Linked DNA regions of Homo sapiens: all the other regions are linked to region 7. Evidence: promoter capture Hi-C in 16 types of primary human blood cells and fetal thymus (Javierre and others, 2016). All regions are on one chromosome and are shown on one strand. Each heading gives the region's core, a stretch centred on a gene start or on the middle of the fragment in contact. The rest is flanking DNA. Distances are from core to core; before and after follow the strand shown. Region 1 holds the start of SELENBP1 (selenium binding protein 1). Region 2 has its middle 2.7 kb from the start of PI4KB. Region 3 overlaps POGZ (pogo transposable element derived with ZNF domain). Region 4 has its middle 3.7 kb from the start of RFX5. Region 5 overlaps PI4KB (phosphatidylinositol 4-kinase beta). Region 6 holds the start of PSMB4 (proteasome 20S subunit beta 4). Region 7 holds the start of MRPL9 (mitochondrial ribosomal protein L9).

The links. Contacts are between HindIII fragments. The CHiCAGO score rates a contact against its expected background, and 5 or more counts as called.
Region 1: the fragment with the promoter of SELENBP1 here is called in contact with the fragment with the promoter of MRPL9 in region 7 in 1 of 17 cell types (M2 macrophages); the score reaches 5.2 in M2 macrophages.
Region 2: a contact is called between a fragment that was not itself captured here and the fragment with the promoter of MRPL9 in region 7, in 1 of 17 cell types (erythroblasts). The highest score is 5.1, in erythroblasts.
Region 3: a contact is called between a fragment that was not itself captured here and the fragment with the promoter of MRPL9 in region 7, in 6 of 17 cell types (endothelial precursors, M2 macrophages, megakaryocytes and 3 more). The highest score is 7.2, in endothelial precursors.
Region 4: a fragment that was not itself captured here is called in contact with the fragment with the promoter of MRPL9 in region 7 in 6 of 17 cell types (endothelial precursors, M1 macrophages, M2 macrophages and 3 more); the score reaches 7.9 in endothelial precursors.
Region 5: a contact is called between a fragment that was not itself captured here and the fragment with the promoter of MRPL9 in region 7, in 1 of 17 cell types (erythroblasts). The highest score is 5.1, in erythroblasts.
Region 6: a contact is called between the fragment with the promoter of PSMB4 here and the fragment with the promoter of MRPL9 in region 7, in 3 of 17 cell types (M1 macrophages, M2 macrophages and megakaryocytes). The highest score is 8.8, in M1 macrophages.

Annotation. Positions count from the first base shown.
Region 1 is chr1:151,370,984-151,374,698 of GRCh38, reverse strand. SELENBP1 (selenium binding protein 1) reads left to right here and starts at 1,994. Exons shown (of 12, transcript NM_003944.4): 1 at 1,994-2,061. The coding sequence starts at 2,058. RefSeq lists enhancers at 1,473-2,056, 2,057-2,640, 3,387-3,715. The HindIII fragment of the contact is 17,083 bases long and covers 1-3,715 here.
Region 2 is chr1:151,328,202-151,331,992 of GRCh38, reverse strand. No RefSeq gene overlaps it. Among named protein-coding and RNA genes, the nearest start is that of PI4KB, 2.7 kb to the right of the region's middle. The HindIII fragment of the contact is 3,778 bases long and covers 1-3,476 here.
Region 3 is chr1:151,419,307-151,423,152 of GRCh38, reverse strand. All of the region lies in intron 10 of POGZ (pogo transposable element derived with ZNF domain), which reads left to right. Among named protein-coding and RNA genes, the nearest start is that of PSMB4, 22 kb to the right of the region's middle. The HindIII fragment of the contact is 726 bases long and covers 995-1,720 here.
Region 4 is chr1:151,349,055-151,352,766 of GRCh38, reverse strand. No RefSeq gene overlaps it. Among named protein-coding and RNA genes, the nearest start is that of RFX5, 3.7 kb to the right of the region's middle. RefSeq lists a silencer at 1,367-1,567. The HindIII fragment of the contact is 1,999 bases long and covers 552-2,550 here.
Region 5 is chr1:151,311,206-151,314,993 of GRCh38, reverse strand. All of the region lies in intron 2 of PI4KB (phosphatidylinositol 4-kinase beta), which reads left to right. Among named protein-coding and RNA genes, the nearest start is that of PI4KB, 14 kb to the left of the region's middle. RefSeq lists an enhancer at 3,147-3,441. The HindIII fragment of the contact is 5,699 bases long and covers 1-3,788 here.
Region 6 is chr1:151,397,356-151,401,248 of GRCh38, reverse strand. PSMB4 (proteasome 20S subunit beta 4) reads right to left here and starts at 1,676. Exons shown (of 7, transcript NM_002796.3): 1 at 1,522-1,676; 2 at 1,062-1,268; 3 at 661-807; 4 at 404-485; 5 at 1-10. The coding sequence starts at 1,661. RefSeq lists a silencer at 949-1,106 and enhancers at 875-1,596, 1,947-1,996, 1,597-2,319. The HindIII fragment of the contact is 7,561 bases long and covers 1-3,893 here.
Region 7 is chr1:151,761,852-151,765,350 of GRCh38, reverse strand. It overlaps MRPL9 (mitochondrial ribosomal protein L9), which reads left to right and starts at 1,855. Exons shown (of 7, transcript NM_031420.4): 1 at 1,855-2,024; 2 at 2,205-2,361; 3 at 2,851-2,975; 4 at 3,196-3,246. The coding sequence starts at 1,872. It also overlaps a transcript of OAZ3 not described here. RefSeq lists an enhancer at 1,705-2,084. The HindIII fragment of the contact is 8,401 bases long and covers 1-3,499 here.

The sequences.
Region 1 (3,715 bases), core at 745-3,244, 390 kb after region 7:
TGTCTCAGGCCTGTAATCCCAGCACTTTGGGAGGCGGAGGTGGGTGGATCACTTGAGGTCAGGAGTTCGAGACCAGCCTGTCCAACATGGTGAAACCCCGTCTCTACTAAAAATACAAAAATGAGCCAGGTATGGTTGTGGGCACCTGTAGTCCCAGCTACTCGGGAGGCTGAGGCAGGAGAATCGCCCCTCTACCTTTACTGCCTCCCTCTGTAGCCCAGATTAGGATAACTTCCCCAACCACCTGCTGGCTGTAGAGCAAGAGTTCAGGGAGAAAACCACAGGCAGAGGTGAGGGGTGCCATGGAGTTGCTGCAGAGACCAGCCAGGTCAGAGCTCAGGAGCATGAAAGAGGTAGTCAATGACAGACCACAACAAACAAAATAACAGCCTTTTTTTTTTTAAGTTAATGACTCAATAATTTTTTATGAGAAGGTGGGGATAAAGTTTCTTTCTCTTTCAGATCTTGGGTGGTGGACTAACCCAAGCCAAGAAGCCGGAGAATAGAGAGGAGGCAGGAGATGGAGACCTCAGGAGGAGGAAGAGGGGAGGGCCAGAGGGAAGGGTGAAGGCAGGGTGAGTGGAGGTAGTCAGGACAGGAGGAAGCTGGCAAAGACAAGGAAGCAGCCTTCAGGGCCTTCCCCGTGGGGCAGCTGCACACACAAGACTCTCTTTGATGCCTGGCAGGCTGATGGCACAATGGTGAGGATAATAGATGCAGGATGGAGCCAAGAGGGGTTGAGTGGCGCTGGGGATAAGAGAAGACCCTTGCCCCGGGCAGCCACAGGGAGTCTTCCTTGATGGGCACATGATCCCTCACTGATGGGAGCCAGGAAGACAGATACCCAATGCACCAAGGCCCAATTTTGCTCCCCTTCCCCCACTCTGGTTTGGAAACCCTGTATTCTACTTGCAATCTCAAGCCCAGACTTTATTCTTTTTCCTAGCCAATAAAAACTTCACCCCAGAGCTTTTATCCAAAGAGTATGAATATCTGGAATAAGAGGGCAATCTTAGGGAAGAAGTGACCCTGGCTGATGGGCCCACAGTCCCGGGTGCCCCTAAATGCTAAGAGACAGGTCCAAATACAAAGACGAGCATTTGGAGACACAGGAACACATACGTGCGCAGGCTTACACAAGCACATGCACAGCCACATAGCCACACACTACACATACACAAGCACTTATGCACATGTCCACACAGGCGTAGATACTCTAGCAAGCACATACTCACAGAGGCGCGCACACACACACACACACACACACAGGCGTAGATACTCTGGTAGGCACATACAGAGGCGCGCACACACACACACGCACAAATACACACAAGCACACTCACAGGCACATTCACACACGTGGAAATTCACACACAGGCACAGATACACACTCATGCAGGCACGTGCACGAGCAACACGCAGGTATACAGGAACACACACATGCCCAGACACACAAATCCACACACACCCAGGCACCCACTAAAGAGCACGAGCTGGTCAGGGGCAGCGGCTCACACCTGTGATCCCAGCACTTTGGGAGGCCGACACGGGTGGATCACCTGAGGTCAGGAGTTTGAGACCAGCCTGGCCAACATGGTGAAATCCCTTCTCTACTAAAAATACAAAATTGCTGGGCATGGTGGTGGGTGCCTGTAATCCCAGCTACTCGGGAGGATGAGGCAGGAGAATCACTTGAACCCAGGAGGCAGAGGTTGCAGTGAGCCGAGATCGCACCACTGCACTCCAGCCTGGGCAAGAGTGAGACCCTGTCTCTAAATAAATAAATAAATAAATAAAGCACAGGCTCCCACACATACACACTTAAACACATACACGCACACCCCATAATTCAAACACCAGTTGCCCTAGGCCACTTGAGAGTATCCTGGCCAGCTGCCCTGAGTAGTTTACTCTGGGCTACAGCCCGGGCCCTCCTCCTTCTCTGCCCCACCCCCAGCTGGTTGTATAAATTCCCTCCCTTCGCTCCTTCCCCGGAACAGCGGCCTCTGACACCAGCACAGCAAACCCGCCGGGATCAAAGTGTACCAGTCGGCAGCATGGGTAAGGAGAGGGGTTTCCAATCACCCATTGCCTGCTCTGTCTGCCCCTAATTTGGAAGGCCCTCCTCCAGAAAATGCTAGAAAACCTGAGTGGGGAGCTGGGGAGGGAGTAGTGGACTCTGCTTCATTGTCCCCAGTCTGCACACCCCCTCCCCCACCACCCCACTGCATTTCCCAGCTCAGCCAAACTTTCTGAGGAAGACGGGCAGAGGCACTGCTGGGAGATGGGATCCTGGGCCCTGACTTGGCTCCATCCAGCAGAGGCTGGGACCAGGGTGCCTTTCTGCAGCTGGGAAAATCAGATGGGCGCTCTTAGAAAACACCACTAGGTCCCTGGCCCTCACATAGTAGAGAGGTGATCCTGATTTCAGCCATGGGCCAACTTTGTACTCCAGCGAGGTAGGGAGTCCAAAGCCTTTCTGTGCCCAGGTCACTCTCTAGCTACTCCACACAGCAAAGCTCTCTGGGAGGGAAATCAGAGACCCCCACACTCTTTCACTGGGGACCTGTTTCAATGCCTCCCCCACCCCTAAATCCCCCTTGGCCCTGCTATTCCTCCATCTGTAGGCTTCTGGGTGACAGGCTAAGAAGGAACTGAGGTTTGGTTGGGAGGTCCTTCCCCGCTCGGGGCTGGCTCTTGAGCTGGCAGAATGCCGAGCTGGCAGAATGCCCAGCAGCCAGCCTGACATGGAAAACCCACTTGAGCTTTCCATGAGTCCATCCCAAACCCAAAGCTGCTCCGAGACCTTGCTTGAGATGTTTCAGATGGGGGTATTCCCCAGAAAGAGGAATGATGCTCCCTGGGGCTGCAGTGGCATGCCAGGCCTGACCCTAAGAAATGCTGGGGCTGGGGTTGCTGGGGTGTGGGGTGGGCCGAGGCTGCAGAGCGGGCAGCTCCATCTCTGCACTTTTACTTCCCTCTCAGCTTCTCCCTAGCTTTGTATTTTTTGTATCTCTGTCTTGAGGTCTTGGAGTTTTAAAATCTCCTTTCCCTTCTGTATCCAGCAACCTCCTTCCCCACCCCCTGTCATCTGGTGCCAAGCCCCGACTTAGCAAGATTGTGTAACAGAACCAGTCTCCTTAACTCCTGTGAACTGGACCTCTCTCTCTCTCCCTGCCCCACCTCCAGCCCTCTCGCTGGGCATCGAGCACTCCCTGGCATTCTCCTCTCCTCTGGCACAGCCCTTCCCATATTTACACAGTAATTCATTATTTTTTTTTTTTTTTAGTCAGAATTTCACTCTTGTTGCCCAGGCTGGAGTGACTGCAGTGGCGTGATTTCGGCTTACTGCAGCCTCCACCTCCCAGGTTCAAGTGATTCTCCTGCCTCAGCCTCCCAAGTAGCTGGGATTACAGGTGTATGCCTGTATTTTTTAATACAGGCTAATTTTTAATACAGGGTAATTTTTGTATTTTTAATAGAGACAGGGTTTTGCCATGTTAGTGAGGCTGGTCTCAAACTCCTGACCTTAGGTGATCTTTCCGCCTCAGCCTCCCAAAGTGCTGGGATTACAGGCATGAGCCACCGCACCCGGCCTAATTCATTTTTATGAAAGGCCTTTGGAATACATTGTCTTATTTGTCCTCCATATCTACCTAGCAAAGTAGGTAGAATATCATTATTGCCCACTTTTCGTAAATGAAGAGGAGAAAAT
Region 2 (3,791 bases), core at 338-2,837, 430 kb after region 7:
CGTGAGCCACCGTACGCAGCCGCAAATGTTATGCTTTTACATTTAATGTGGGGGGAGAGAATGGCATTCAGTTTTACAATTTGACAACTAAGGAGACTGAGGAGAAAAAAGACAAATCAGGGGGAGGAAAACATAACTTAGTCAAAATATTTATTTAAAAAATATTTTTGGCCGGGTGTGGTGGCTCATGCCTGTAATCCCAGCACTTTGGGAGGACGAGACGGGTGGATCACTTGAGGTCAGGAGTTTGAGACCAGCCTGGCCAACATGGTGAAACACTGTCTCTACGAAAATAACAAAAATTAGCTGGGTGTGGTGGTGGGTGCCTGTAATCCCAGCTACTTAGGAAGCTAAGGCAGGAGAATGGCTCCAACCCGGGAGGCGGAGGTTGCAGTGAGCTGAGATGGCACCACTGCACTCCAGCCTGGACAACAGAGTGAGACTCTGTCTCAATTAAAAAAAAAAAAAAGAAAAAGAAAAAAATATATATATAAAATATATATATATATATATATGAACTAAATCATTTTTGAAAAATAACTATATTTTCCGAAACAAGAAAAAAAATCAATGAGACAATTGGCATTGTTTTTAAAGGGGGAAATTTCTTTAATGTCAGACTGGGTTCTCATATCTGCTTCTGCATTCAATCTTTGTGTGTGTGTGTGTGTATGTGTGTGTGTGTGTGTGTCTCACTCTGTCACCCAGGCTGGAGTGCAGTGGCATGATTGCAGCTCACTGCAACCTCTACCTCCCAGGTTCAAGCAATTCTCCTGCCTAAGCCTTCCCACAGGTGCATACTACCACGTCTCGCTAATTTTTGTGATTTTGGTAGAGACACAGTGGCTCACACCTATAATCCCAGCGTTTTGGGAGGCCAAGGTGGGCAGATCACCTGAGGTTGGGAGTTCGAGACCAGCCTGGGCAACATGGTGAAACCCCATCTCTACTAAAAATACAAAAATTAGCTGGGCGTGGTGGCGTGCACCTGTAATCCCAGCTACTTGGGAGGCTGAAGCACGACAATCGCTTGAATTCGGGAGGCAGAGTTTGCAGTGAGCTGAGATCACGCCACTGCACTCCAGCCTGGGCAAAAAAGCAAGACCCTGTCTCAAAAAAAACAAAAACAAAAAACAGAAGATGATAAAAAAAAAAAAAAGAAACCCTCCCGAAAACGGCAGAAAGACAGTCATAAAGGGATGCAAAGAAATTTATACATATGGGCCAGGCACAGTGGCTCACGCCTGTAATCCCAGCACTTTAGGAGGCCGAGGCGGGCGGATCACGAGTTCAAGAGATCAAGACCATCCTGGCCAACATGGTGAAACCCCGTCTCTACTAAAAATACAAAAATTAGCTGGGCATGGTGACGCATGCCTGTAATCCCAGCTACTCGGGAGGCTGAGGCAGAAGAATCGCTTGAATCCAGGAGGTGGAGGAGGGTCCCTTGAGCCAAGATTGCACCATTGCACTCCAGCCTGGGCGACAGAGGGAGACTCTGTCTCAAAAAGAAAAAAAAAAGAAAGAAAGAAATTTATACATATGAACCCTTAGAGCTATAAATAGGAAACTTAAAATCTTCTACTTATGTTTGTGTGTGTGTGTATTTTTAGTAGGGTGGTCTATAACTGACTAGCTATAAAAAGTTCCTGCTTCAAATTTGAAGAGATGTTTCTGAAATTTTTTCTGTCATTGGAAAATAAGAAAACTTCCTACTATAAAAAAGGTTGTCACATGTCTTTCTACAATGTTTCAAAAGGCTAGTCTTGTGGCTGTTTGGAAGGTTATCCCTTGAGGGGATACATGACATTTTAAACTCTAGGCTAAAGCAGGGTCATCGCCTCATGATATTTGCGGGACAGCTGATTGGAAGCTGGCCAAGAGCTGGTGGGCCTAACATGTGGACTGGTGATTCTCCCCAATCCAGACCAGTGGTGAGAATTTTTTTTTTTTTTTTGAGATGGAGTCTCGCTCTGTTGCCCAGGCTGGAGTGCAATGGCGCAATCTCGGCTCACTGCAACCTCTGCCTCTCAGGTTCAAGTGATTCCCTGCCTCACCCTCCCTAGTAGCTGGGATTATAGGCACCCACCACCATGCCCAGCTAATTTTTGTATTTTTAGTAGAGACAGGGTTTCACCAAGTCGGTCAGGCTGGTCTCAAACTCCTGACCTCGACTGATCCACCCACCTCGGACTCCCAAAGTGCTGGGATTACAGGCGTGAGCCACCACGCCAAGCCGATTTTTTTTTTTGAGACAGGGTCTCACTCCGTTGTCCAGGCTGGAGTGCAGTGGCATGATCTTGGCTCACTGCAGCCTCTGTCTCCCAGGCTCAAGTGATCCTCCTACCTCAGCCTCCTAAGTAGCTGGGACTACAGGTGCATGCCACCATGCCAGCTAGGCTAATTTTTGTATTTTTGAAGAGACGTGGTTTCACCATGTTGCCCAGGCTGGTCTCAAACCCCTGAGCTCAAGCAATCTGCCCACCTCAGCCTCCCAAAGTGCTGGGATTACAGGTGTGAGCCACTGTGCCCAGCTGACAAATTTAAACTATCTTTGGCACTCTTGTCCCCATTCTTTGTTCATCTTTCATACTGTACTCCTGCTTTAACCTAGCTTGTCTGCTTGCCCTCTCCTCATGATATGAGCAAATTCCCATTTATATTCTTCAACATACAATTTTTTTGCTTTCAGAATGCTCGCTTGTCTTTTATTTTGCTGGGTTATATCCAATATCTATTCTAAGACCTGACTCACAATATTTCTAAGAAGCCTTCCATTCATTCATTCACCATATACTGGTGTGTGTGTGTGTGTGTGTGTGTGTGTGTGTGTGTGTATGTGTGTGTGTCCATACACATATAGGCCTTCCAAATTAACTTAAACTCCACTATGTCCCTTCAGCAATTAGGTTAGGTACCCCATTTGTTCTACTGTTGTATATACTGCATGTTTTACACAGGCATTTTCAAGCTATTACACTTTATTCTGCCTTCCAATTAAACATTGTAGCAGTGACTCTTTCATCATCTATCCTGTATGATTGTCCCAATAATTAATAATAAAGTACTATAGTAGCAACTTGTACTCTCTTGATCCTAACAAAACCCTGTAATGGGCTAATATTACTTCATCCATATGTCTTCTTTGTAGACATAGAAACTGAGGTTTAAAGAGGTTACATTAGTTATTCCAAATCAAACGGCTTGTAAGTGGCAGGGAAGATGGCATTCAAGACCCGGGCTCAAATAACTAGCCTCAATGTATTAAGTAAGGCACTAATGAGGGGCATTGCATATTAAGTAAAGCCCTAGGAAAGGCATTGAGATAGAGGTTCTGAGGACAAAGAGGGCTCTAAATCAACAATCTTAACCGAAAAATACACAAAAAACTTGCTGGGCGAGGTCGGGCCTATAATCCCAGCACTTTGGTACCTGAGGCCGGCAGATTGCTTGAGGCTAACAGTTCGAGACAAGCTTGGGCAACATAGCAAGACCCTGTCTTTACAAAACAAACAAACAAACGAAAAATACACAAAAGCAACACCAGAGGCCCATTTGCATGGCGTGTTTTTGTTTATTTGTTTGGCCTAATATGGTTTCGTTTTGTTTGGAAGAAGGGATTGTGCCCTCCAAGCCTTTGTCGTTTCACTCACCTCTCCCAACCTGGCCCTGTCCAGCCCCTCCCTGGAGGGCTGGGCATATGGATGCTGGAGGTCACAGGCTGCCCAGGCAGGTTGGTGACCTCGGAGGCAGAACCACGGCCTCGAGTCGGGCCTCTAACGGCGAAAAGA
Region 3 (3,846 bases), core at 108-2,607, 340 kb after region 7:
AACCACTGTAGAAAAACAAATGTAATTAATTTATTTCTTAGGTCTCTTTATAGAAGGAACAGTCATCTATTTGCTCTTCCACTTTAGTTAAACCCTGATAGGTTTTATGTAGGCTAAAAGATAATATTGTGAAGTACTTTATCATTAAGACATTGCTTTCAATGAAATATAAGATGAGCTGGAGTGTTTTCTACACTGTATATTTTATACATGTAGGCTGGACATAAGCTCAAAGAAATTAAGTAGGATAAAAGATAATATGGCCGGGCACGGTGGCTCACGCCTGTAATCCCAACACTTTGGGAGGCCGAAGCAGGCAGATCACCTGAAGTCAGGAATTCGAGACCAGCCCGGCCAACATGGCGAAGCCCCATCTCTACTAAAAATGCAAAAATTAGCTGGGTGTGGTGGCGGGCACCTGTAATCCCAGCTACTCGGGAGGCTGAGACAGGAGAATCGCTTGAACCCGGGAGGCGGAGGTTGCAGTGAGCTGAGATCATGCCATTGCACTCCAGTCTGGGCAACAAGAGCAAAACTCCATCTCCAAAAAAAAAAAGATAATATTATGAAGTACTTTATCATTAAGACAGTGCTTTCAGTGAAATATAAGGTAAGCTGGAATGTTTTTCTACACTGTACATTTTATAGATAGATGTAGGCTGAACATAAGCTCAAAGAAATTGAGTCATTTGCTTATGAGCGTACACCTCTAAATACACCTCTACTGGGGATACATAGTGAGGATTTAAGCCCAGTATTGAGAATACTTCTCATGTCCTTTACGGGATTTCCAGTTTTGTTGTAAAGACAAAAATTATGTAAATATAGGAAAATGTGAGAACAAGATAGTATATTATAAACATAGACATTTTAAGATATCATTGATAGGTGAAATACTTCAGAGAAGGGAAAAAATCCTTGTGGCTAGGTTTCCAAGAAAGTCGTGCTTAAATTTAAGAAAGGTTTAGATGGATGGAGAGTAGTAAGAAAAGCTTTTAGGTGATTGAAAACAGCATGATCAAAAGCATAGAAGACATATGCATATTATCTGGATGCATTTGCTACAAGTAAAAATCCTTAACTAAAAATGAATTAAACAATAAGGACTGGGTGTGGTGGCTCACACCTGTAATCCCAGCACTTTGGGAGGCTTAGGTGGGTGGATCAGTTGAGGCCAGGGGAGACCAGTCTGGCCAACATGGCAAAACCACATCTCTACTAAAAATACAAAAATTCGCTGGCTGTGGTGGTGTGCGCAGGTAATCCCAACTACTCAGGAAGCCAAGGCATGAGAATCACTTGATCCCAGGAGGTAGAGGTTGCAGTGAGCTGAGATCGCACCACTGCACTCCAGCCTGGATGACAGAGCGAGTCTCTGTCTCAAAACAAAAGAAAACAATAAGAATATCTGTTATATCATTTAACTGAGAGATACAGAAATGGATGCTTCAGCCTAGAATTTGACTGCCCTGCTGGTTTTCAACAATTCTCTTGTCTCTGGCTCATAGCAGGGTGGCTGTATAAGTGTCAGGCACTATGTCCAGATAAAAAATTGTTAGACAAAGAAGAGATCTTATCTTCCCATCTTTCTTTCTTGAATCTGTTTTCTTATGAGTGAGAATTGCTTTCCTTTTATATCTCTTTGACCATTTATTGGCAAGGGAAGTGGGATTGACATTAATGGCTTACAGTAACACTAGGCAGTAGAAATACGCAAGCTTCATGAGTAATTTTAATTTTTTTCACTTTAAATACAGTAGCGCTCCCTTATCCTCAATTTTTCTTTCTTGAATCTGTTTTCTTATGAGTGAGAATTGCTTTCCTTTTATATCTCTGACCATTTATTGGCAAGGGAAGTGGGATTGACATTAATGGCTTACAGTAACACTAGGCAGTAGAAATATGCAAGCTTCATGAGTAATTTTAATTTTTTTCACTTTAAATACAGTAGCGCTCCCTTATCCTCAATTTTAGTCTCAATCACAGTCCAAAACTAGGTGAGTGCAGTACAATAAGATTATTGAGAGAGACACCACATTCACATAACTTTTATTACAGTATATTGTTATAATTATCCTTTTATATATTATATATTTTTAATTGTTAATCTCTTTGCCTAATTTATAAATTAAACTTTATCATAGGTATATATATATATATATATGAAAAAACACGGTATGTATAGGGTTCAATACTATCTGAGGTTTCATGTATGCACTGGGGGTCTTGGAACGTATATTTCCCATTGGCAAAGGGCGTCTACTGTAAAGTTTAAAAAAACAGGCAAAATTAATTTTAACAGCATATTTTATTCAGTATATTAAAAATATTTCAACATGAACTCAAAATTTAAAATTAATGAGATATTCGTCATTCTTTTTTCCTCCATTAAAAAACAGATCTTTTGAAATACAAATCTAAATTGGGTTTGAGCTTACCACATTTTAAGTGTTCACTAGATACATGTTGCTGGTGCCACCATATTAGACAGTGAAACTTTGGACTAATCATTTGGGAGTAGAATGTATATTAGAATCAACCGGGCCAGGTGCAGTGGTTCACACCTGTAATCTCAGCACTTTGAGAGGCCGAGGCAGGCAGATTGAGCTTAGGAGTTCAAGACCAGCCTGGGCAGCATGGAGAAACCCCGTCTCTACAAAAAAAATACAAAAATTGGGTGTGGTGGCGCACGCCTATAGTCGTAGCTACTCAGGAGGTAGAGGTGGGAGGATTGCTTGAGCCCAGTAGGTCAAGGCTAGAGTGAACCATGATCACGCCACTGCACTCCAGCTTGGATAACAGAGCAAGACTCTGTCTCAAAAAACAAAGAATCAATGGTAACACTGCAGTGTAGTGCCAGGGTAGCCAGCTTGGTCTAGAATAGGACTCACGATTCTTCACTGTCAGTAATGTGAAGCCAGAGTAACTCATCCATACCTCTTAGTGAAAACACCAGTTTTTTGAGACAACAGGGTCTTGCTCTGCCACCCAGGCTGGGGTGCAGTGACGCAATCTTAGCTCACTGCAGCCTCGAACCCCTGGGCTCAAGCAGTCCTCCCACCTCAGCCTCCTGAGTAGCTGGGACTGTAGGCATATGCCACCACACCCAGCTAATTTATTCCTTTTCTTGGGGGTAGAGACAGGGTCTTGCTGTGTTGCCCAGTCTGGGCACCTAACTCATTTTTACGCGTAATATGGGGGGTGGGTTTTGTTATTCCGAAGTTCCACAAATAATAAAATTACACAGAGGGAAGATAAGTTTTTCCTTATGGAAAAGAAACAATGTAGACCCTCATTGATCTTTTTTCTCTTGGTTTCCCTGACTTAATTTTTGAGTCTCTTATGACAAGATTTTATGCTTACCAAAATCACCTTTCCTTAGCATATATCAATTTTATTCTTGCAGTCTTTCGTAATTTCCTTTTTTGCACCCTTGACAGATCTGGCATGAAAGTAGTTTTTTTTTTTTTTTTTTTTTTTTTTTGAGACAGGGTCTCACTCTGTTAGCCAAGCTGGAGTGCAGTGGCACAATCTTGGCTTACTGCAATCTCCACTTCCCAGGCTAAGATGATCCTCCCAACTCAGCCTCCTGAATAGCTGGTACTACAGACACATGCCACTATGCCCAGCTAATTTTGGGGGGTTTTTTGTTTTGGGGGGTGTTTTTTGTAGAGATAGGGTTTTGCCATGCTGCCCAGGCTGGTCTCAAATTATTGAGCTCGAGCAATCCACCCACCTCAGCCTCAAAGTGCTGTGATTACTGGTGTGAGCCACCGTGCTCAGCTTTTTTTTTGGGAGACAATCGCTCTGTCACCTAGGCTGGAGTGCAGTGGCGCAGTCTTGGCT
Region 4 (3,712 bases), core at 302-2,801, 410 kb after region 7:
ACGTGCCTGTAATCCCAGCTACTCGGAAGGCTGAGGCAGGAGTATTGCTTGAACTCGGGAGGTGGAGGTTGCAGTGAGCCGAGCTTGTGCTGCTGCACTCCAGCCTGCGTGAGAAAGCAAGACACTGTCTTAAAAAATAAAAAAAAAATTCACTCCCAATCTTAGTAGGCAATGTATAATAGTGTCCAAGAGCAAATTCTGAATGAAATGAGAGAGGAGAAAGAAGAAACCAGTCAGGCAGGCAGTTAAGGTGGGTCCTTGGTAAAACTCCTTCAAACAAAGAACAGCCTGAAAATTAAACTGCAGGCCCCAGATAAGTGACAGCCCGCATCCTGGAATGGAAATACCTACTCTAGGAACCCAGATGAACAAATACCACTCCCTTTTTGGACATATTTCACTCTCTTTGGCACACCTTAGTCTCTTAGTTTTCATCTATTTTACATATGCTTACCTTTCTGTGATTGGCCACAGCGGGAGTCTTCATTTACATAGGGTGAATCATCACTTCAGCCCCTGATTGGTTCCAGGCCAAGGTCCTGGCCCAAGCTTTCACTTCAGCCCCTGACTTGGTTCCAGGCCAAGTTGTTGAGCCAAGCCTTCACTTCTGCCTCCAACTGGTTCTTTACACTATCATACCTCTTTCTGAGTGGTGCTTTCTGCAAGATAGCCTGCAGGCCCGATCAGCACACTCCTCCCTTTCCCAGTCCATAAGCCACCCTCCTCACCCTCCCACTCAGCCTCATAGCTGGCAATCCTCTTTCAGGCCCCCTCTTTGCTGAGAGCTTTTCTGTTGCTTAATAAATCTGACTCTGGCTGGTCAGGAGTTTGAGACCAGCCTGGCCAACATGGTGAAACCCCGTCTGTACTAAAAATACAAAAAATTAGCCAGGTTCGGTGGCTCACACCTGTAATCCCAGCACTTTGAGAGGCCAAGACGGGCAGATCATGAGGTCAAGAGATTGAGACCGTCCTGGACAACATGGTGAAACACCATCTCTACTAAAAATACAAAAATTAGCTGGGCATGGTGGCAGGCGCCTGTAATCTCAGCTACCTGGGAGGCTGAGGCAGGAGAATTGTTTGTACCCAGGAGGTGGAGGTTGCAGTGAGCCAAGATTGTGCCACTGCACTCCAGCTTGGTAACAGAGTGAAACTCCATCGCCCCCCCGCCAAAAAAAAAACAAAAAGCAAAATATTGGCTGGGTGTGGTAGCAGGCACCTACAGTTCTAGCTACTTGGGAGGCTGAGGCAAGAGAATCGCTTGAACCCGGGAGGCGGAGGTTGCAGTGAGCCAAGATCATGCCACTGCACTCCAGTTCAGGTGACAGAGTGAGACTCCCCCATCTCAAAAAAAATAATAAAATAAATAAGTAAATAAATAAATAAATCTGACTGCCTTACTCACTCTCCAGTGTCTACACACCTTATTCTTCTTGGTCGTGGGACAAGAATACAGAGTCCACCAGCAGTTGAAGTGAAAATGCTGGAACACTCCCTCCCACTCTCCAAACAGCAAGAGTGAAAAAGCTGCAACAGGCCAGGCATGGTGGCTCACGCCTATAATCCCAGCACTTTTGGAAGCCAAGGTGGGTGGATCATTTGAGGTCAGGAGCTCAAGACTAGCTTGGCCAAAATGGTGAGACCCCATTTCTACTAAAAATACAAAAATTAGCCAGGTGTGGTGGCACACGCCTGTAATCCCAGCTACTCAGGAGGCTGAGGTAGGAAAATCACTTGAACCTGGGAGGCAGAGGTTGCAGTGAGCCAAGTGCAGTGGAGCCACTGCACTACAGCCTGGATGACAGAGTGAGACTCTGTCTAAAAAGGAAAAAAAAAAAAAGCTGCAACGCAAAGAGCCTAGGTGCAGATCCTGGCTCCATAGCTTACTAAATTATGATGTAATCTTGGGCAAATTATTAACCTTTCAATGCCTGTCTCCTCACCTGTAAAATGGGGATAATCATAGTATCTATCTGAGGCCGCACGCGGTAGCTCACGCCTGTAATCCCAGCACTTTGGGAGGCTGAGGCGGGCGGATCACGAGGTCAGGAGATAGAGACCATCCTGGCTAACATGGTGAAACCCCGTTTCTATTAAAAATACAAAAAAATTAGCCCGGTGTGGTGGCAGGCGCCTGTAGTCCCAGCTACTTGTGAGGCTGAGGCAGGAGAATCACTTGAACCTGGGAGGCAGAGCTTGCAGTGAGCCGAGATTGCGCCACTGCTCTCCAGCCTGGGTGACAGAGCAAGAATCCGTCTCGAAAAAAAAAAGAACGGGCCCCAACACATATTAGGCTCTGTATAAATACTTGCTGTTATATGATGCTTATCCGGACAATTTTTATTGTTACTGCCCAAGGCAAGGACCATACCTTATTCAGCTTTGTATCCCTAGCTCTTAACACAATGCCTGGCATAAATTAATAGTTTCCTCTTTCCTATCTCTAGCCTTTTCTTTCACTCAACTCTACCTTCTATAGTGCTGTCAAAATCATCTCTTTTACTAGGTACTATGTACTATGATACTTTCTCCCCCCTTACTAAAGCTTCCAGTTTTTCCCTGTTATCTGCAAATTTTTAAGCTAGATAACTTACCCAAAACTCTGTTTGCAACCAAAGTGCTCTAGGTTCTCCTTCATACCAAACAGTGGTGTTAGGGCTATCTTTCCATCAGTCTATATCCATATTTGGCTTGCTATTTATTTATTTATTTATTTAGAGATGGAGTTTCGCTCTTGTTGCCCAGGCTGGAGTGCAATGGCATGATCTCGGCTCACCCAACCTCCGCCTCCCAGGTTCAAGCAATTCTCCTGCCTCAGCCTGCCAAGTAGCTGGGATTACAGGCATGCACCACCACGACTGGCTAATTTTGTTTTGTTTTTTGTTTTGTTTTTTGTTTTTTGTTTTTAGTAGAGACGGGGTTTCTCCATGTTGGTCAGGCTGGTCTCAAACTGACCTCAGGTGATCTGCCCACCTCAGCCTCCCAAAGTGCTGGGATTATAGGCATGAGCCACCACACCAGCCGGCTTTTTTTTTGTTTTTTGTTTGTTTGTTTGTTTTGAGACAGGGTCTTACTCTGTCACCCAGGCTGCACGACAGAGTGGTGCAATCATAGCTCACTGCAGCCTCGAACTCATGGGTAATAGTGATCCTCCTGCTTCAGCCTCCCAAGTTGCTGGAACCACAGGCATGTACCACCACACCTGGCTGTGTGTGGTGTGTGTGTGTGTGTGTGTGTGTGTGTGTGTGTGTGTGTGTGTGTGTGTTTAGAGAGAGACAGAGTCTCACTTTGTTGCCCAGGCTGGTCTCAAACTCCTGGCCCCAAGCAATCCTCTTGCCTTTGCCTCCCAAAGTATTGAGATTATAGGCATGAGCCATCATGTCCAGCCCGTTATACCCATATTTATTTATGAGTATCTGCAAATATGTATACATGCAGTCTAAGGCAGTGCTCAAAACAATCAGCTTTGAGGCAGACTGCCTGCCTTTGGATCCTGATTCTAGCACTTTCTACATATATGACTAAGGACAAGTCCCTTCACCTCTCCACATTGGTTTCCTCATCTGTAAAATGGAGACAGTAACAGTACCTACTTCAGAGAGTTGCTGTGAGCATTACACGAGGTGTTTAGCATTTGGTATGGTGTCTGATACCTAATAAACACCAAATAAATTTTTGTTTGTTTTTGTTTGAGACGGAGTTTCGCTCT
Region 5 (3,788 bases), core at 295-2,794, 450 kb after region 7:
ATAAATAAATAAATAAATAAACTGCCATTCCATTAACATCTACTATGTTAATGAGAACTGTGGCAGAAGCCCTCCACACCCTGACCTGAGACTTGAGATAGCTACCAGAGCCTCTCAGAGCAGCATCTGTGGGAAAGGAAAAGGTACTATTGTCTTTCTGTGTGCTGGGGTAGGGGAGATGTTAGAACATCGGCTTCATTCTCCTGGCCACTCCTCCTCATAATCTAATCCCTTTTCACTACCCTCTGAAGATCCTACCTTTTGTTGACATAAGTGTAAGGTTTATTTCTTATCACTGAGGCATCTGGAGAATGCCTTCATTGCCTGCCTTTCCTTAGGGGGAAGAGTGCCTTGCTGGTATCTTTCCCATACCATTTGGGAGAAGCACAAAGGGAAGAGAAAGCACTCTTAGTATAGAGTAAATATAGTGCCTAGTCAAGGACCTGGAGGCTGGGAAGAAGAGGAAGCTACAGCAGCAGTTGGAGGTATAACTTAGGATATAGAGCAGGGAAGAGGTGGCCACATGAATAGGTTATACCCACTCTTCACTCCACATCTGGACAGATAGCAGGGAAAGCTGCCCAGTGGACTACCAAGTGTCAGTGACCTGGTGTCCCAGCCAGACAATGGTGCTCCAGTCCTCCCCTCTGACTCACCATTGGCCAGGCTCCCATCCTGGCTTCCAACCCAGCCTAGAAAAGAGGGAGAAAAAAAGGAGGAATTTGCACTTTTTGAAAAATGCGGATAGCTATGGTCTTGGCATCTGCCTCTGTGGGGCATATAACCCACCCACGTTTTTGATACAATGGGACTTCTTTCAAATAGAGGGAAGTCAGAGTGACTAGAGAAAAGGAAGAGGGAGGGAGACTATAGAGCCTGCTCTCTGGAAATTTGGAATTTTGTTAGGATAGTTTAATAATGGTAAAGCTAAAAGTGCTAACATTTATTCAGCACTTATGTGCCAGGCATCTTGCCAAGTACTTTACATTTAATCCTCACAACCATGCTGAGAGACAGGTATTATTTTGCCAGCAAGGAAACTGAGGCTTAGAAAGATTAGATGTTTTGCCCAAGGTCCCTCAACTAGTGAATGTCAGACCAGGACTCAAATCTCCAGCTGGTGCTCATAATCATTCAGCTGAACTACCTTGGTTATTTCTCAATATCTACTTCCCAAGGTCCCCAGCTGTCAGAAGCCATGTGGGGAAGAACGGCCCAGGCTATGGCCATCTGAGCTTCCACATCCATGCACAGGCAAAGCCAAAACTGTTGTCAGAACTAGAATGAACCGTTTTCATATCTGGTTGAGCTTGGCAGCAGAGCCCTGGGTCATGAAGAGAAGTTGCTGCAGAACAAGAAGAGTCATCCAGATTCTAGTGGAACATGAAGGGTTGGATAGCTGTCTCATCTTGGAGTCAAACCTGTAGCAGAGGGTGAGCAGCTGGAAGTGAATTCCTTGGTGCCTCTTGTCAGGCTTGGCTTTTCTCTTTATCCATTTTGTAGTGCTCATCTTAGGACCAGAAAAGCTGAGGCCTCAGGGCTTTTCTTACTCTGCTGATCCTTGGTCCCTCTTTCCTTACATCTAACTCCCACTCCAGGATAAGATTATGGATGGCACTGAGAGGCAGGTATTAGGTGAATACTTACATCATTTAGGGTGGGTTCTGTAGCTGCCGTTCTTCCAACCTGACTCCTTATCTTGGGTCACTAGATCCAGGAGAGGAAGGAGATACTATGTTCCCAGGCACTCCTGCGTTATCTGATACTGACAGAATGAAATACCTGAATTCATTATGGCTCCACAGAAAATGGGAGAGCAAGAAAGAGACAGAAACATGAATATCACTAGGTTTCTAAGCATTAGAGTCGTCAGCACAGGGGTCTCTCCCAGCCCTTTTCCTTCCATCCGTCCTTCCTTCCTTCCTTCCTTCCTTCCTTCCGCCCACCCGTCTGTCTGTCCGTCCGCCCTTTTTCTTGCAACAGGGTCTTGCTCTGTTGCCCAGGCTGGCGTGCAGTGGCACAGTCATAGCTCACTGTAGCCTTTAACTCCTGGGCTCAAGCAATCCTCCCATCTTAGCCTCCCAAGTACCTGGGGCTACAGCTATGTACCACCACACCTGGCTAATTTTTAAAAAATTTTTTTGTAAAGATGAGGTCGTGCTCTATTGCCCAAGCTAGTCTCAAACTCCTGGCTTCAAGTCATCCTCTCGCCTCAGCCTCCCAAGTCACTGGGATTACAGGCATGAGTGACTAGACCCAGCCCCTTTGGCATTTTGAGGATGCGTCTGTCAAGGCTTTTGTCCCCTAAATACCAAAGGAATTGGTTTTCCTTTTACTCATCCTTCTTCCCTTTCATGTAACATTCATTCACTCAACATGTAGTTATTGACTTTGTACAATGTCCAAAGCCGTGAGCTGTGCTGTGGAGGACGGGGGATAAAATGTTATCCTTCCCTCTAGGAACATGTGAAGTAATAATGAAAACCCCAGTATCTATGGAACTGTTTAGTTTGTGACTCTCTTGAAAAAGTTGTTTTCTGCCATAAGCAGGAAGTATACAGCTTACTAAAATGAGGCACATAATTATCTAAGACCTAAGCAGAGATACTCTAGGAGAATCTCTAGGTAGACCCTAACACTCTGCTCCCAGTCTCTTGCTTTTCTTTTAGGTTCTGAGTTTAATACTATGCTCCTACCACCAGTAGAGGGGCTCCCAAGGATGAGGTCGGGCCTCAAAGAAGAGGCTCAGGGGCAGCATGTACAGTTCTCTTCCTGCCCATGGTCTCCCTGCAGAGTTGTTCTCTGCTCAGCTCTCACAGTGTTCTCTTTCTTACTATGAGGAATCCTTTACACTCTCTCCCACAGTCAGAAGGCTTTGTGCTGATTTTTCACATTTTCCACCACTGCTCCTCAAAGCCTGCCGCTTCAAAGCCATTTTATCAGCCTAGTCGGGGAACTCTGCCCAGGCAGTTTGTCCTCCCATTTGTAACCAAATGGCAAATATTTTGGTATAGAATGGGGGAGCTAAAAGGAGAGAGTGATTTAGGTATCACACCCTCCCCGATATGATGACACTGTTAGTAGATTAGCTTTGTCTTTTCAGGACTGCAACCTTTGTACAGAGAAATCTGCCGCATGTCACACTGGAAGCCCCAGTAGGCCTTCTAGCTTGATATGGTGTGATGTCAGCTTCTTGCTTCATCTTTACTCCCCGGAGCTGACTCAGTGTGAGTGACTCAAGCCCAGGGAGTAGGAGAGGAGCAGGTCATGATATACCTCCCTTCCCCCAGGGCTGTCAATGAGTCAGACAGGACCTGTCTGTGACAGAATCAGCTGGAGCGTTGCTCAGGGAGCCAATATCTTGCCTGCTGTTCCTTCTCCAACCAGCTCATAGGTAGAAATAGAACCACTAATTCATAATAGACTCTGACATCCTCACTGCCTTAATTCTCCCACCACCTTCTACCCAAAATGGAAGAGTTGTTGCCTTAGGGGCATGTTTCCAAATGTGGCTTCTCCCTCAAAGTGCTCCAGTCCCCAGATTCTTCAAGGAAGGACCTGACTATAGGACCTCCAGCTAGAATAGAACTGAAACCATGGAATTGAGTTCAAGTGGATGCTTGAATCTACTCAGCAGATTTCAGAGTAGAAACTCACCACTGCCCTCCTGCCCTGGGAGCTCTTAGGACTTTGTCTTTTAAGTCTAACCTCCCCCACCCCGACCTCAACGTCCCCCACAACCTAGATTTGTGCACACGTGCTGCTCTGTTCCCTGCCCTGGTAGACCA
Region 6 (3,893 bases), core at 427-2,926, 360 kb after region 7:
GCAGCAGAGGCTAGGGAGATTGGGGGAAAACCATGGGGGGATATTGGGCTGAATAACAGGCTAGTTGTCTCAAATCTATGGTATAAAAAGCATTAGAGTGAAAGATGACATTCTACTTCTTGCCTCACCAGAATGAACTCTGCTTAGAAAATAAGCTAAGAGCCACTTCAGGAAGAAGTTCTAGGGTGTCCTCTCTTTGCATGTCTACTGACTCCCAGTCATGTCATCTTGTCACTGGAATCAGTGTCAACACCTACAGCCCCCAGACTACAAAGAAAACCATCTGCCCAGTAATAGCGATCCCAGCCCATCCCTCATATCAGAATTTCAGGAGAAAAGCAGACAACCACTAATCCATTTCCTTTTGTCTTCCCTTTCCCCCACCTCTAGACTTACTACTTACCTGAGCCAAGTATGCACCATAACCAGTGGCCAGCGAAGGGGCTTCATAGGCTACACCAAGCATGTCCACATAACCGAGGAAGCTAACAGGACACAATGGGTCAAAACTCATTTCACCTTAGATTCATCTTAGCTGAAGAAGGGGACCATGGGGTCTGAGTTAAAGTGGGATTCACTTGGGGAGAAGAGACAGAAGAGATACTACACAGGTACTAGGTTGGGTGGTAAAGGAAATAAGTTATTTGTATTCATATGAACCTCTCTCCATCAGCATAGCCTCCGATGACCATGGTGTTCCACAAAGGGTTCATCTTCGAGCGCCGGCTGTACATGGCCCTGGTCAGCCATGAATGAATAGCTCTAGGACTATAGCTGTGTCCATCTCCCAGAAGCTCCTCATCAATCCTTAAAAGGAATTGGTTGTGAGAAAAGGGAGAGAATTAAGTCGGGGTCTCCACCCATCCCCAAAAGAAGTTACCACACCTTCCCCCATTTTACACCTAATGCCAAAAACTTTATTGCAAACACAGATCGCCCACCTCCAACAACTCTTCCAGTCCCCCGCTGCAACAAGTCCCCCCATCCCATCGAAGGGAATAAAAAACAGGGGACTCCCCTCTCTACTTGGGAACCACTCTCCTGTTCTCTGGATGACTTACACCATCTGGCCGAGAACTTGCTTCAAATACTGGAAATCAGCGTAGTCGCCAGAGGCACCCAGCATGGTACTGTTGTTGACTCGCATAATGCGAGAGATGTTGCGGAAACGAGCCAAGGAGCCGTAGGATCCCAGCATGTCTGCGGCAATCACCACTCCGCCCTCGAACTTAACGCCGAGGACTGAGGTCCCGGTCACCATGGGGTTCCTAAAGAGTGAGAACGGTGGGAGCTGAGAGGGGGGATGGACTGCGCCCTCTTTCCGCGCACTGAGCTGCGCTTCTGATTTTCTATAATTCCTTCCAATTATTCTGCATTCTCCAGGACTCCGCGCCCTGAGCTCCCCTGCCGTTCGCGCGCCCCCGGGGTCCCCGCCTCACCTTCCCGGGCTCTCAAAACCAGCCGGCAGCACCAGGCCCCACGGTCCCTCCCGCTACGCAAACGAAAGCGCCGAGAACTTACTGGGTCCGCGTGATTGGACCTCTGTAAAGTGCAGACGCCGGATCCATGAAGGAATCGGGAGTGGACGGAATGCGGTAAAACTGTCCTGGGGCCGGACCCCCCGCCCAAAGTCCGGACCGCGACCCCAAAAACGCTTCCATCTTAGTCACGGTAGCAGAAAAAATGAAAGCGCTTGCGCCAACGGAAGCGGAAGTGATCCTTCAGTGTCATTTCTTTCTTTTTCCTGTAGACGACTTCCAGCAGCCATGTTGATGAGGTCGTAGCTGAACATGCAGTAATCCTAGGTGGCGACCGAGACAGGGAGTTGAAATTGCCCAACATCGCTTCGCATCGCATCGCATCTCCGTGGAGTTTGGACCAGATCACAGCGTTCTAACACACGATTCAAGGAGGAGGGAGGCATGAAGGTGGGGTGGGGAGGTGGCCACTTAAAGACGCTGATCCTGAGTGAGACGTCACAATTTTTTATTTTATTTTTTATTTTTTTGAGACGGAGTCTCGCTCTGGCCCCCAGGCTGGAATGCAGTGGCGCGATCTCGGCTCACTGCAACCTCCGCCTCCCAGATTCAAGCGATTCTCGTGCCTTAGCCTCCCGAGTAGCTGGGATTACAGGCGCCTGCCACCACGCCTGGCTAATTTTTTGTATTTTTGCTAGAGATGGGGTTTCACCATGTTGGCCAGGCTGGTCTCGAACTCCGGATCTCAGGTGATCCGCCTGCCTCGGACTCCCAAAGTGCTGGGATTACAGGAGTAAGCCGCCTCGCCCGGCCTAGAAGTCACAGTTCTCATGTTCCTTTTGTATCATTATCAAAAAGCCCACATGAAAATATCAGTGAACACAGGATCTCTTACATCTGTACTCCTCAGAGCAGCCCCATGTGGCAGGCATTATTCGACCCATTTGGTAAATAGGAAACCGAGGCTTGCGGTGTAGTGATTTACCCAGTCACACAGCCGATAACGGTAGAACTGAATCTTGAAGCTAGAATAAAAAAAGGAATCAGGGCCGGGTGCGGTGGCTCATGCCTGTAATCCCAGAACTTTGGGAGGCCAAGACGGGAGGATCACTTGAACCCAGGAATTCAAGACCAGCCTTGGCAACATGGTGAGACCTCACCTCTACAAAACAAAACAAAACAAAAAATTAGCCAGGCCTGTAATTCCAGCTACTTGGGAGGGTGAGGTGGGAGAATCGCCTGAACCCGAGGGAGGTTGCAGTGAGCCAAGGTGGCGCCACTGCACTCCAGCCTGGGCAACAGAGCGAGACCCTGTCACAAAAAAAAAAAAAAAAAAAAAAAAAAAAAGAATACACTTGTGTATACCCTGTGGGGTGTGATAGCTCAGGTGGATCAAGCACTCTCTGTGGGACCTTAGACAAGTCTGAAAGTTTCCTTATTGTCAAGGGCCCTTGCCCACCTCTAAAGAAACAGAAAAATTCCATTGGAAGTGTAGGGGTGAAACTAAATTCCAGGGGTTTCCTTCTCAGTGTAACTCCATAGCAGGGGCTGGAAACTGTCTTGAATCAAACTGGTGAATTTTGTCAAAGATAAACAAAGCCGGACACTAAAGTGGAAAGGACAGATTTCAATCAGTAATAACTACTACAATAAGGAAAAACAGTTCAGCATGAACTGAACTCAACTGCAATTTGTATGCAAGTAATGGGTATTTTATAGGGAAAATGAGGTTAGGGGACAGTGAGACAGAGGGTCAGTAGAGTCAGGGAAGTGAACATTTACAGAATTAGTCAATGTAAATGTGCTTAGGTCAATGATGTCTGCTAGCTGGCATTTATGGAAGTTAGGATTCCATCCTCCCACAGAGACTGGTGAGGATACCATCCTCAACACTGTCCTTAGGTGTCTTTTGTTTGTTTGTTTTTTGAGACAAGGTCTGGCTCTGTCACCCAGGCTGGAGTGCAGTGGCATGATCTCGGCTCACTGCGACCCTTGCCTCCCCGGCTCCAGCGATCCTCCAGCTGCAACCTCTCGAGTAGCTGGGGACTACAGATGCCACACCCGGCTAATTTTTGTTTTTGTTTTTTTTCTTTTTTTCTTATTTTGAGAGGGAGTCTTGCTCTGTTGCACAGGCTGGAGTGCAGTGGCACGATCTCAACTCAAAGCAGCCTCCGCCTCCCTGGTTCAAGCGATTCTCCAGCCTCAGCCTCCTCAGTAGCTGGGATTACAGGGGTGCACAACCATGCCCAGCTAATTTTTTTTTTGTTGTTGTTGTTGTATTTTTAGTAGAGATGGGGTTTCATCACACTGGCCAGGTTGGTCTCAAACTCCTGACCTCAGGTAATCCTCTCACCCCAGCCTCCCAAAGTGATGGAATTACAGGCGTGAGACACCACGACCGGCCTAATTTTTGTA
Region 7 (3,499 bases), core at 606-3,105:
ACTGAAAAAAACTGACATTTAATTAAACACTTGGAGGATGTGAGGTTGTTAACCAAGCCAGCATCTGAGGATAAGAGCATCCAACGCAAAAGCAGCCAGTGCAAAAGCCCTGAGCAGGAAACGTGCCTGGTGTTTTCAAGAAACAAGGAGGCCACTGTGGGTGGAGCAGTGTAAATTAGAGAGGAGCTAATGGGGTCAGAGTATGTATGGCCTTGTAGACCATCTGATGGCCTTTTTCTTTTACCTTGAGTAAAGGAGGAAGTCATTACAAAGTTTTGGGTGGAAGAATGACATGATCTGACTTATGCTTTAAAAAGATCATTCTGGCTGCTATAAATAAGCTACATAGAATTATAAACTGTAGAGAATTAAGGGATATCTTTTAGGGGACTATTGCAGTAATCCAGGAGAAAGTAGTGTCTTATTCCAAGGTAGAGCATTGGAGGTGGTGACAAGTGGCTGGATTCTGGAAATACAAGTGCTCCTTGACTTAAAATAGGGTTATGTCCTGATAAACCCATCGTATGTTGAAAGTATCATAAGTTGAAAATGCATATAATACACCTACCAAACACCATAGCTTAGCCTAGCCTATCTTAAACATGCTCAGACAACTTATCCGACAGTTGGGTAAAATCATCTAACACAAAGCCTATTTTATAATAAAGTGTTGAATATTTCATGTAACTTATTGATGTCCTACTGAGTGCACATCACTTTCACACCATCACAAACTCAAAAATTGTAAATCCAAGTCAGGGACTATCTGTAATTTAAAGGTAGAACCCACAGGATTTCCTGATGGAGTATGAGAGAAAAGAGTTAGAATGGAAAGAATGGAGTTTCTGTCAACTGAGAGGAAAAAGGCTGCAGATGGGGCAGTTTTGGGGGCGAGGGGGGAATAAATAAATTAGTTTGGGACAGTTAACTTTGAGGTGTCCTTTGGATACGTAAGAGGAAAATGACGAATAAACAGTTGAATATTTGAGACGAGTTTGGGAGATGTCTAGGATGGAACTAGAAATTTGGGAGTCATTGGCTTATAAATGGTATTGTAAGCCACGAGACTGGATGAGATCAACAGTGAGTGTATACTGAGAAGAGTAAAGGTTCAAAAACGGAGTCCCGAGGGCATTCTAAGAAGCGGGGAGAAAAGGAGAAATCAGCAAACGAGACTGAAGAAGACCGGTGTCCAGGAGGCCAAGTAGTGTATTTAGGAGGAAGGAGGACTGGTCAGTATGTTTAAGGGCCAGTCTTTCCATAATCTCTGCCAAATGGACCTTCTTTCATCCAGTTTTTATGGTCTTCTGTCCAGTACTGAGACCCTCCCCAGAGGGAACTGTCGCGGCCTTACCATAGTTGCTTTTTTTTCTACGGTTTACATAGCTTGTGATTTAGAATTCTCCTTTATTAGCTTAAATACTGCAGTATAATGATTAAGGGTCAGGCTCCTCCTGGAGCTGGCAGAGTTTTCCAAGGGATCCCATCCTTTACCACTTTTAGGTAGATTTGAAGTAAGGAAAAGTGAGAGCATCATTCATTCTCCGGTCAGTATCCAGTCATCACAGAACGTTAGAATTAAAAGTTAGCCCAGCAACTGGAGCTACAGCAAAGCCCACACTTTCAAGAGGAAGAGCGTCTTTTCCGGCGTCAGTCCACCTAACACTCATTCCATTATCAGTCAGTAATTCTAGGCGTCCGTCACCTCTGCCAAAAAGCAAAAATAGGCAAGCCGCGGTGCCATCTGTTCCCCGGCCCGCTCCCCATACTTTCGCTCAGCCGTACCGGCGCGCCGCAGGCAGCACTGGCGGGGGCCTTTCCTGCCGCCGACGCCGGGGTCCTCCCTCAGGTCTCATTCTGTGCCTGTGAACATGGCGGCGCCCGTTGTCACGGCCCCGGGCAGAGCTCTGCTGCGGGCGGGCGCTGGACGGCTGCTTCGGGGAGGCGTCCAGGAGCTACTGCGGCCGCGACATGAAGGGAACGCCCCTGACCTGGCCTGCAACTTCAGCCTTTCTCAAAATCGGGTGAGGGCTGAGTCTGGGGTAGGGGGTAGATACGCTCGAGTATTGTTTCTGGAGGCGCACTGGGACCTGGAGGGGGCCGATGTGGGGGTGGCGGGCTTTCCTTGAGGGGCTGGCGGCCGTGGTGGAGGGAGAGGGTGTTCCTTGTGGAGACTAGCTTACCGTCGCTTTCCTGGCCGCCAGGGCACGGTCATCGTGGAGCGCTGGTGGAAGGTACCGCTGGCCGGGGAGGGCCGGAAGCCGCGCCTGCACCGGCGACATCGCGTCTATAAGCTGGTGGAGGACACGAAGCATCGGCCCAAAGAAAACCTGGAGCTCATCCTGACGCAGTCGGTGGAGAGTAAGGCCCGGGCCGAGGCGCTTCCTCTCAGGCTGGTCCGGTTTGGCATCAGCTTTTTCTAGCCCGTCCCCCTCAACTATTTGCCTTGCTTTTTCTTTGTGGAAACAATCCAACTCTATATGTGAGAAGAGGAAGCCATAAAAACTATTGTGATTGTGACACTGGCCTCCAGCATTGAAAATTAAAACATAAAGGCAGCAACATCATTAACAGTGTGTGGGGAGAGGAGCCTGACAATTTGTGCCACAGATACTGAAATCCTCCATGGGACGACAACTCCCTCTATACAGGGGATATTAAATTTATACATCAAGTTCTAAAGAAACTAATTAGCAGTCTCTTAAATCTTGTTCCTAGTGAATATGAATTAGCATTTCTTTTAGGAAAAATAAGCACTGTGAGAAACTAAGAGGTGCTTCTCTTTTTGACATCTTTTCTTTAGGGACTCCTAGATGGTTCTAATTCCCCTGTCTCTGTTCTAATTGACAGATGTTGGAGTCCGGGGTGACCTGGTCTCAGTGAAGAAATCTTTAGGCCGGAATCGACTCCTTCCTCAGGGACTGGCTGTATATGCATCCCCTGAAAACAAGAAGCTGTTTGAAGAGGAGAAATTGGTGAGCTCAAAGGAAGGACAGAGAGACTTGGGGAGATAAAACTTCTTTTCTCTTGCAGCTTCCTTCCCTTTGACATTTAACTTAACTTGAAAATGAAATAGGAACTAGAAGAACAGGAATGCAGAAGCCCAGCCAATGTCCAACATAGGAATAGTTTGATGCTATTTAACATGGGCTCATTTTTCTTTTACTGCTTTTCATCTTTAACTTTCTTTTCTAGCTGAGACAAGAAGGAAAATTAGAGAAGATCCAGACCAAGGCAGGTGAGGCGGTGAGTAGAAACATAAAAAGTGTTTATTTGTCACAAGACTTACCAACCTCACCCTGAGAGTCTCCCTGATTCCCTTGAGGTCTCCTGATTGCAGACCCAAGAGTGGGAGAAAGGGGAAGTGTTGTGGCTGCCCCACAAAACAGGTATGGAGACCTCTTGGGAGATCCCTGATGTGTTGGGTGAAGTGCCTTAAAGTACCAAGGGAGGTCCCAATCTGGGAATCAGGGAACCCATGGAATAGTCTGAGATGAGG